Regions from separate parts of the Homo sapiens genome. Here region 2 is linked to region 1. The links are contacts of gene promoters, found by promoter capture Hi-C in human tissues and cell types (Jung and others, 2019). All regions are on one chromosome and are shown on one strand. Each heading gives the region's core, a stretch centred on a gene start or on the middle of the fragment in contact. The rest is flanking DNA. Distances are from core to core; before and after follow the strand shown.

Region 1 (5,513 bases), core at 1,044-3,543:
GAATATTTGCTGGACACCAACCTCCTGTTACCTAACCTTACAGAGGGCCCAGATCTCACCTGCCCAAATCAGACATTTTAACACACACACCTCTCAACAGCAGGACTTACAGACACAAAACTCTGAGGTAAAGGATTGTCTCAACTCCCTGGTGTCTCAACGAACTAAAACACTGCCTAGCGCAGGTGCACCATCAACCTTATTCACTAAATACACCTCTGTATATATTCTTCATCTTTGATTGTGGAAATGATATAATCAACATAAAAATGTTTTATAGATTGGACTAAAGACCTTTGAGGTCTCTTCACAGGATCCTATCTGGCGGACCCCCAAATCTGCCAACACAGAGGTCATCCGTAAACACGTGCAGGACAGAGGCCAGACAAAACCATCTCTCTCAGCCTCAAAGTGGCCTGGCAGTCACATGTGGGGTCTGGCCTGTATGAGGAAGTCAGGCTTTCGGCTCCAGGCACCCTACTGCACCGCAAAACCAAGTTCTGCCTAAGAAACAAAAAACAGCCTGCTCACTCTCCCTAATATCCCAGGTGGTAACCTAAGAGCATTATCTGCTAGACACCCCTCCTCCTCCACCCTCCATGTCCAAGCTATCACCAAGGTCCTAGCAATCTTACCTCCTAAATGTCTCCCAAATCCACTTCTCTCCCTTCACTGTCCAGGCCACCAGCATGACTTCTGCATGTGTGTAGCAGCCTCCGCGCAGGACGTAAAGATGCAAATCTAGTCGTAGGCTCTCTGAAAGGAAAATTTTGGGGACCCAAAATTACTAAGCTAAAGGAAAAGTCAAGCTGGGAACTGCTCAGGGCAAACCTGCCTCCCTTTCTATTCCAAGTCACCTATCTCCTCACTAAGATAGGTGCATATCTGATTCCCTGCTTTGGAGAGGCTAATCAGAAACTCAAAACAATGCAACCTTTGTCTCTCACCTACCTGTGACCTTGGAAGCCCCCTCCCTGCTTCCAGTTGTCCCCAGCTTTCTGGATGGAAGCAACGTACTTCTTACATATATTGATTGATGTCTCATGTCTCCCTAAAACCAAGCTGTGCCCTGACCACCTTGGGCACATGTCGTCAAGACCTCCTGAGGCTGTGTCACGGGTGCACCTCTTTCTAAATTACCTGAAACCATCTCAGATAGGGTTCACACATCCCTTTCCCAAACCCTCCCAGGAGCCCCTCGTGGGCGCCCAGGTCCTGCGTGCTGTTGTGGCCCAGGCTCACCTGGAGCAACTCGACTCTTCGTTACAGCCTCGTGAACCTTTCAGTTCCTAAAGCTGTCTAGCCTGTGAAAGGAAAATGAATCTGGGGGCCCCAAAATCACTAAGCTAAAGGGAAAAAAGCTGGGAACTGCTTAGGGCAAACCTGCCTCCCCATCTATTCAAAGTCACCCCTCTGCTCACTGAGATAGGTTAATATGTGATAGCCTCCTTTGCGGAGGCTATTCAGAAACCCGAAAGAATACAACAGTTTGTCTCTCACCTACCTGTGACCTGGAAGCCCCCTCCCTGCTTCGAGTTGTCCCGCCTTTCCCGAGGGAACCAACGTTCATCTTACATATATTGATGTCTCCTGTCTCCCTAACATGTATAAAAGCAAGCTGTGTCCCGGCCACCTTTGGCACATGTCAAGACCTCCTGAGGCTGTGTCACGGGCGTGCGTCCTCAACCTTGGCAAAATAAACTTTCTAAATTGACTGAGACCGTCTCACATATTCGAGGTTCACAAGCCCATGCATGGGGACGTCCCCTGGGGTAGCGCCCCTCCTCCACTGAGCTCACTCGCTTCCCCCTTGTGTGTTTTCTTCAGAAGAAATTTCGCAGCTACTTGGTCCACACCTGTCTGCCCCACAGGAACCTCTCTTCTCCACAGGCACATGGGCGGCGTACCTGCTGGGCTGTGTGGAGAGGACCGGGTTCCTCTCCTGATTCCTGCTCAGTTAATAACGAATGTCGACAAGTCGAGAAAATTGCTCAAATTTACCCCATCAAAGAATTAAAAACTGGTGAAAGCTTGACCTGCGCCCCCCACCCCTGACGTGCTCACCGCTCCACTCCCTCTAGGCGGGCGGCACCCGCTGAAGCCTCGGTACCACACCCACAGCCAGGAGCCCCAGTCCCGCACTCGGCCGCATGCGCACTCCCTGCGGCCCTCCCGCCAGGCGCCGCGCTGGGCAGCCAGCGCCCCGGCGGGGTCCTTCAGGCCTTCGGCCGGGCAGCCTCCCTCGGGGTCCTTGTGCGGTTGCGTAGCAGCTGCGAGGACGCGGGCCGAGCCGGAAGTGGAGTGCGCTGCGGCGCGAGCTGGGCCGGCGGGCGTGGTTCGAGAGCGCGCAGAGTCCAGACTGGCGGCAGGGCCCGAGGGGCCGACCCGCAGCGTCCCTGGTCTCTCCAGCCCTCACTCGGAACCGCACGTGAGGGCAAATCCGCCCCGGTGGCTGGCTTAGCACGCGGGGACAGCCCCTCCGAGGCCTCCCTAGCGGTGTGGGCGAGAGGGCGTCCGGGTCGGGGGAAGCACGGAAAGGTGGCTTCGCGAGGCTGTTGTGGGGGGCGGGACGGGCAGCCTGGCGATGCCTGGACATGGTTGGTGGCCAAAAACATTTATCGAAAGATAGCTTACCCACTTAGATGGCAAGGACACGGACAAGCAAGTCTTCGCCCGTAAGCGGTGGCTCACGCCTATAGTCCAGGGATGCCGAGGAGGGAGGATCGCTTGAGTCCAGGAGTTGGAGGCTGCAGTGAGCCGTGATCGCGCCACCGCACTCCAGCCTGGGCGACAGAGTGAGACCCTATCTCTAAACAAAAGAAAGAACGTCTTCAAGCATGGAGCCATGAAGCTGGATTTGGCTTTCTGTCGCTCTCTCTACAGGGTACAGGTGAAAGGGGGCAGACCCCTCATCATGCTTTCCAGGCATCTGCCACTTCCCAGGAATTGTCTCCCTGGATAAACAAGGCGAAGTCCCTGGCTGTGCAGAAGCAGTAGCTGTGTGGTGGCACAGTCAGGAAAACTCGGGGGCCCTGTTGGTATTTTCTACCCCTGACCCGTGTGCATACTTCTGTCGTAGCTCTCACCACAGTAGACTCTGCTATCATTGTGTCTTCCATCCTCTGAACCCTGTGCAAGGTCTGCTCATGGTGAATGCCCAGTAAGGCTCACCTATTGCTGCTGTCTCATCATCATATCATTTCTATGTGCCCCCCTAGCTAAGAGTCTGGACTGTGGTTACATTCTCAGGAATGTTTGCAAAGTCATATTTAGGTGTGAGGAGAGTAAAACAGAGCTAGACATAATGTTGCACACAGCCTTTGGCACTGGATGCCTGGTGAATGTCTTGTGCAAATGGGTAACGTGAGGAGCAGCATTTGGGGTGCGCAGGACTTAACTATTTGTGTATAACATATTATTGATGCCTGTGTGTCATACTCTGCTACTCCAAGTCTAGTAGTCAATTGCATACCATATCTCAGTCTGGCACTGAGGGAAGCAGTCTGGAGGGAGGTACAGCTGGAGATTTGGTTGAGGGGACTTATCTCTGACAACAGCCTCTTGTTGATCTTCCCAGACAGTGACAATACCCTCCCCTCCCTTGGGCTGGACCCCTCTCTACAGCTAGGAGCCAATGGCAGAAGACAAAACCAAACCGAGTGAGTTGGACCAAGGGAAGTATGATGCTGATGACAACGTGAAGATCATCTGCCTGGGAGACAGCGCAGTGGGCAAATCCAAGTATGTTGGGAGATTAGGGAATAAATACCAGCCCCAGAGAGGGTCCAGGTCATTTAAAAAGTCCTCCAGAGGCAGAGGAGCATGGCTTCTTGGGGCTGGTGAAGGAGCAGTCTTGGCTGGAGCCCAGATGTTCATGGGGGAACGAGGGGAATCACGTGAGCCGTTGTGTGTGTCAGGTGGAGGGGGCAGGTCATAAGGACTGAGGAATTTGAATGTTTCCTCTGAGCCCTGAGAGAACGTGTGGAGCAACTGAGGACATTGTATGTGGTTTGTGGGCTGAGGGATGGCAAGGGCGGGGAGTGGGAATGGAAAGACAAAAGTGACTATGCCACCGTGACAGATTGGGTAAAGGTGGTAAAGATGCTTTCTTGGAGGGACTCTCTGAAATAGAGAAAACTGGGTAGAACTGACGATTGACTATAATCATTGTGAAGACTGGCTTCTTCTTGTAATGAATTTCGGTGCCTACGTGCCACCCGGAGAGGTGAAGGGAGGCTCTGCCGTGCTGCCAGCTTGTCTCCATGAGACGTCCTAGTTCTCACGCCTAGGACTGCTGAGGGCACATGTCCATTTCTGCCTTCATAGCATGACGGTACACTTGCCCCTGCCCAGAGAAGTGGTCACGTTTATCTCCCAAGTACTCCAGGCCCACCTTGGTTTCTACCTTCATTTTTATAATCAAGTCCTTTGACTCAGGTAGCTGTGAATAATTCTCTGGGGGCTTTGCTGGTTTTTAGGCCATCTCCATGAATTTGAATTCTCTGTCTCTCTCTCTCTCTCTCTCTCTTCCCCACCACACAATCACATACTGCAGCTCTGGTTTAGTTTTTTTTTTTTTTTTTTTGAGACGGAGTCTCGCTCTGTCCCCCAGGCTGGAGTGCAGTGACGTGATCTCGGCTCACTGCAAGCTCCGCCTCCCGGGTTCACGCCATTCTCCTGCCACAGCCTTGCGAGTAGCTAGGACTACAGGCGCCTGCCACCACACCCAGCTAATTTTATTTTTGTATTTTTAGTAGAGACGGGGCTTCACCTTATTAGCCAGGATGGTCTTGATCTCCGGACCTTGTGATCCGCCCACCTCAGCCTCCGAAAGTGCTGGGATTATAGGCATGAGCCACCGCGCCCGGCCTCTGGTTTAGTATTTTATAGTTACTTTGACCATCCTCAACAGCACGCCTGTACAGTAAAAGTGAGGGTAGGTGTTGTAGTTTGGGAAGGTTACCCAATAAATAACACCCCCTTTATCCCCACTCAAGTTTAAAAACAACAAAGAATAGAAATGGCAGGCAGGTGTAAAGCAAATTGCCACTTTAATAACAAACAGAACTTTCGGAGAATGTATCTTGGTATACCCAGCTCCCAAGTTCAATGCTAGTCTCTTTATATGCCTCATTTCAAACAGTAACAAAAAATAAGAATCCAAGTAGTTAACTTGACGTCAAAGATTACCATAACATTGGCCTCCACAGACACAACAATTAGAAAACAAGGCAGTCTTCATCCACTAGCAGTATCTCAGGCAAAAGGTTGTCCCAGATACAAAGACCATGGTGGAAACAGTGCATCTGAGGGAAGGTGAGTGCATGAGAACACTGTGGTTCAGTTTTGACTGGACTCAAGAATTACTGCCAATTTTCAGTGTCTCTAACCTATGAATCTAAACTCAGTTGGGCTAAAACACCCATTAAGAGGTTAACACATCCAGGCTGTGGTGAGCTATGATTGCGCCACTGCACTCTAGCCTAGTGACAGAGCAAGACCCTGTCTCAAAA
Region 2 (5,513 bases), core at 992-3,491, 56 kb after region 1:
CTCCTGCACAGACGGCACACAACAGCAGCAACGGTGCCCACACGCGTTACAGACATGCTGCGGTGGCAGCAGCACACACACGCAGACACGCAACACGCACACATGCACGCACGCACACACACAAGAACCGATGGCAGCTCACTTCCCAGCCTCACCTGACAGGACCCTAGAGCTCTAGCCCCTCCTTGGCTCTGCCGTGGTGGGAGGCCTACCTGGGGTGATAGCTCCAGAGAAAACCCACTCCCATGTCCTCCCATTCCCATCCCTATCCCCACTGTGTCAGGGGAAGCCTCAAGGGGCTGTCAGTGGCACCAGAGCCTCTCACAGCCACGCAGAGCAGAGACCCAGGCAGACAGGCACAGCGTGTGGACGGCAAGAGGCATGGGATGGGCATGCTCACTTACACAGCCGGCGCTCGGGACCACGGCGCAGCTCGACAGAGCAGCCACATGCAGATGGGCAGGAGAGAGCAATGAGAGAGAGAGTTAGCCGGCCAGGCCCACGCGACCCACAGCTGCAACCACACAATGGGCAGCCAGGTGTGGAGGGAGGAACTCAGGTGCAGAGGGCCCAGCTGCTGTGGGAGGGACAAAGCTGGAGCTGCTGGTGGAGGAGAGGCGCCTGTGCGAGAGTCTCCAAGTGCAGGTGAACCACAAGCGTGGCTGCAGTGCTCGGCAGGTGCCTGGCCGCCTGGGGGTGCTGAGCCCCTGACATCCTCTTTGGCCGGGCCCCTCTCCAGTGGCCCTCCCACCCCCTCTCCCTGCCCCTGCCCAGGCTGAGTCCCCCCACCCCAACCTCTGTGCTGTCCTCACCACACAGCATCACCAGTCCCTGCCCCATACAGGCATGGGGCTCCCCTTAAAGGCTGTCCTCACCACACAGCATCACCAGTGCCTGCCCCACACACGCATGGGGCTCCCCTTAAAGCAGGTTTCGTCTTTTGTCTCCCACCTGTGAGAGGTCAGCCCTCTGTGGAGATCTGAGCTCTGTCTCTCCCATGGGACCTCATTTCTGTCCTCTCCTCAGCCTCTGTCCCTACTGCCTCCTCCCAGCTGCTCAGATCCAGAGCAGAACTTCCTGAAGAGGCCACACTGTGCCCCCAAACAGAAAGGGGCTTCAAGAACACCTGAGGTGGGCCTCAGCACAGGCACCAACCACCAGAATAAGCTGTCTTTGCTCCCATTGGACCTGGCCTCCATGGATCCACCTGCACAGTGGGCCAAAGTGGGGAGGCAGCCAAGGTTGGGGGGATTCCCAAGGGGAGGTGCCAGGTGGTGTTGGGTCGGGGGGTCCCCTGGGGGTGGGTGCCCAGGTGGTGGTGACTGCTGGAGGGGCTTGCCAGAGGAGACTCCGAGAGAATCACTCAGAGGGACCTGACTGTGGACACCCAGAGAGGGGCAGGACCAGGAATATGCACCTGGCCTCCACCCACCAGCCCCAACAAAGTGGCCCTGGCCTGGGGACCTGTATCACAGGATGGACACCTACCCTGGCCCTGCCCCTGCCCCAAGGCTTAGCTTTCAGTGGAGTTGTGATGGCAGGTGTACCTGGAGTCTCAGGTGTGACTGAAGCACACTGATGAGTTGCAGGACCACAGCAGTGAAGGCAGAGGCACAGGGCAGGCGCGGGCAGCGCAGCCAGGAGGCTCGGCCGGAGCCCAGAGCAGGGTCTGGGCTCCAGGAGGTCCGAGCTGGGCAGAGCAGAGTTGTGCCTGTCTGGGTAGTACTGGCAGGGGCTGAGCTGGAGACCTGGGCAGAGGGCAGGCTGGCTCCAGAGGCACCCACGGAGCCAGGGGCCCGAGGGCAAGAGATGTGAGGAGAGCCATTCACATTGCTCCCGCCTCCCAGAGCATGCTGGAGATGTCAGGAGGCCAAGAGAAAACGCCCAAGGAAGGCTGTGCCTGCCAAAGGCCCCAGGGCACAGGAGGGAGGGGCCTGGGGTCACCCATGGCCCAGGTGTCTGCTTCTCCTCTTTCTCTTGGGGAAGAGGGTACTGCCCACACCATCCCCAGGGCACAAACCCGAGCAGTGTCCATGTCTGACTTCCATGTTTCCATGGCCTCTCTGCACACCCACTGTCACTCTCAGCCGTCTGGCCACCTCCCTGGCCAGGCTCCGGCCGCCAAACAGCCACATCACAGCACCTGCCAGCCTCCCAGAGAGCTTCTGGGCCACCCACCCTCTAACACATGATACTTCACCAGGCACCGTCACCCACGAACACCTCCAGCAGCCACGCTGAAGAGGCTGAGTCCAGATCACACTGAGGCCCCCACGGCCCCACGTCTTTCCACCTACATTTGAATCCTGCACCGTCTCACTGTTTCCCAGTGACTCTCAGCCAGTGAGAGAGGTCTGGCCTTGCCACACCCTCCCCACTCCGCCCTCTGCCCCACAGTTGGCCAGGCGGTCAGCAAGACCCCGCTGCTGACCTGTTCATGTTTCCCTTCGAGACATTCTTTCCCAGGCCTCTTCCTTCCTAGATGGATTTTCGGAGAGCTCCCCTCTTAGTTTGCAGTTTCTCCTGGGCAACATTATCCACTCACACCCTTTGCTATGGCCAGTGTGCCCAGGAATGCTACATGTGAGACCCAGACAGCCTCTGATGAGTCCAACACCTCTACTGGGGTATCCACACATGTCCCTCCATCCCCAACTCAGTGAACGGCACCCTGTCATTGCCACACACAGAGCCTGGGAGCCACCATCAGCTCCTCTTTTTACCCTACAGCCAATGGCTAACTCCTAATATCAACCCAGACCTTCTCTTTACCCCTTGCCATTTCTGGATCCAGACCGTTCATGGTCTCAGGCCCTTCACCCCACTTCTTACCAGTTCTCCTTGCCTCCTGGTACCTAGCACAAAGCCAGGAATACGAGATGCACTAACAAAATGCAAAAATAGTATGTATGACATGTCCCTGCCAGGCGTGCCCAACTCAGTCAGCCCACTAGGGCCAACAGGCAGGAAAATGTCCACACTCGGGCCCGGGATACTGCCTCGGGCCTTCTGCCACTGCACTCACGTGGGGCCGGTCTAGGCCTGTGGCCTTTTGCAAACTAGGGGCCTCATTAAGGGAACTAATTCTCAGAGGAGCACAAAACCAGACATGGGCTCGGAAGCTTCCAGTGCATCCTCTGCGGTAACACGTCTTGCTCCTCGGCACCCCGCCTGTTCCCAGCTCCAGCTCTGATGGGCCCCAGTGTCCTATGACCCCTCCTCTGTACCTCCTTCCTACTCCCCGAACAGGGTTCAGGGATCCTGGGAACACACCTGCCCCAGCTGCATGTGGCCTGCAGGGGCCCCCACTGGCAGGTATGTGACACATTCAGTCTGGGTTTCAAAAGAGCAGGCCCTGCTGGCCTTGGCCCTGCTTACCAGTGTGATCCACCAAGCACACAGTGCTTTGTCCAGAGCCCTGACAAATATATTAGCAGGCAGGGTCTGCAGCAGGCCACCAGGGCAGGGCTTCTTGACCATTTTGAGGAACATGGGTCTTCTGGGAGACCTAGGAACTGACTCTAGCAGGTCTGGAGACCACGGCACACAGTGCCCTCCTCCACACAAGCTTGTCAAAGGCACCAGAAGTACTGCAGCAAAGAACCTCTTTTTGTGTTTCCAAAGCTACTTTGCCATGAACTTTACCTACAAAACCAGATGTGAGAGTCCCATGTAAAGCTAAGTGCCAAGGCAGACGTGAGCCTTACTATGGACCTCAGACCCCACATGGGATTCAGATCCGAGCACGGGGCCTGGAAGACAAATGGAGTTTAGAGCCAGGTGTGAAGCCAGGGTCTCAGAGACAAGTGAGAGCCTCAGACAGATGGGGTGCCTGTGGCCAGTTGTGGGGCTCGGAGTCAGGTCTGAATCATGCCCAAATGTAGCCTCAGAGTCAGGTGTGGGGCCCAGAGACCGAGGAGGGGCTCTGGGCAGATGAATGGTCTGTCCAGCAGAGCTAGACTTGGAGCTGGGAGCACAGAGCAGGTGGACAATCTGGGATCGAGGATTCAAAAGGCCGAAGGTCCTGGACCTTCCAGAGGCAGCATGAGAGTGCCACATCCTCCAGGTTCCCCTGAAAATCAAAGGTGGCCCCAGAGCTCATCATTTTTCCACAGGTTACCGAGCTTTGGTTCCACGACATACAGGACAGCTTAACTTGTCCAGAAAGCTCTCAGGCCACAGAACACCTTGTGGCTAAAGCACATCAGGAATGAGCCATCTCTGGAAAAGGTGGGTGGGCATTCCCTTCCTCATGGTGTCGGTCAGGGAGGAGAAGGATGGGCCTGGGAGACAAACACTGTGGAACACAAGGGGCTGGAGACACAGCTCAGGGTATGGCCCTGAGGGTGACCTAGCGCCTCTGCCACGACTGGCCCTGGGAAGGAAGCAGCCATACCTGGATGTCAGAACCTCCCACACTTTAGGCAGTTCCACCAGCAGTTTTATCCCTAAGTGAGCAGTGAGTACCGGACTCCAGCCATTAGGGGCCGCAGGACAAGAGCTGACAACAGCCACGGTGGGCACACAAGGACCAGATCTGAAACAGGACTGGACTCAGACATCACCAAGTGTCCTGTGCTCCGCTCCGCTGCCTGCAGCCAGAAGCACCGGAAGTTAAGGGCCCAGGGTGGGCAGGGGCCCCTCCAGATGGCTGTAGTTCAGCCCAGGTCTGAGGGCGAGAAGGAGCGCAAGAGGGTGAAAGGAAGAGTGAGCTGGAACAGAAGGTAACACAGAGGCAAACTGAGAAGGAAAAGCAGGCCCGGGTAGGCCACTCAGGTGGCACCAGGTGCTACTTATGACAAACATGACCAGTAAACAGCGGGGGTGAGTCTGTGCCATGCACACACCTGCCACTTCTGTGGAGGGGCGTTACTGGGCAAAAGCCCATTGTGTGTCATCAGAAGGGGCTTAACAACAGCGGCCCTGGTTACGGCAGCCAGAGAGCAGGGCTCATGGTCAGGCAGACCACCGTTTTCTGTCTGCAAGGAAGCTCTCTGGTACCTCAGTTTCATTGTCTGGAACATGAGGATTCTGTTAGTGTCCGTCTAACAGAACGGTGTGAAGACAAACTGATACGGCAGGACCGTCTCCAGTGCTGCATCCAACAGGCTTGTTTTCCCACAAAGGACTCTAAGACCTCACCTAGGTGTCGTCAGTGACAGCAAAGACAATGGCAGCTCACACCAGTGAGGGGTCCACAGGCCCCAGCCCTGGGCCTACCAGGTGCTTCACAGGTGATGCCGTGTGCAGCCTCGCGATAGCCTGTGCAGTTGGCTCGCTGTAAATACACTTCACAGGGGAGGGATACAGCACTAAGCTGTGACCTCCTGAGCACCGACATCAGGGCCCTCTGATGGCTCCAAGCCAATGACCGGCAAGGAAGTGAGTTGCTGATGCCAGTGGGGGCCGTGTCACAGAACATTGGTTGCTACAGGCTGTCCAGCATCTACTTACTCAAGGGACAGCACTGGACTTCCATCTGGAGAGCCCCCTCCCCTCACTCTCAGCACCTG

What was found. Contacts are between HindIII fragments. The study calls those that stand out against the background at their distance.
Region 2: a contact is called between a fragment that was not itself captured here and the fragment with the promoter of RABL2B in region 1, in 2 of the 25 tissues and cell types used here (dorsolateral prefrontal cortex and mesenchymal stem cells).

Annotation. Positions count from the first base shown.
Region 1 is chr22:50,780,416-50,785,928 of GRCh38, reverse strand. It overlaps RABL2B (RAB, member of RAS oncogene family like 2B), which reads left to right and starts at 2,293. Exons shown (of 9, transcript NM_001130919.3): 1 at 2,293-2,428; 2 at 3,582-3,741. The coding sequence starts at 3,635. It also overlaps the pseudogene RPL23AP82. RefSeq lists a silencer at 2,122-2,361. The HindIII fragment of the contact is 9,824 bases long and covers 661-5,513 here.
Region 2 is chr22:50,724,599-50,730,111 of GRCh38, reverse strand. The region is part of intron 24 of SHANK3 (SH3 and multiple ankyrin repeat domains 3); the gene reads right to left. Among named protein-coding and RNA genes, the nearest start is that of ACR, 11 kb to the left of the region's middle. The HindIII fragment of the contact is 4,655 bases long and covers 1-4,568 here.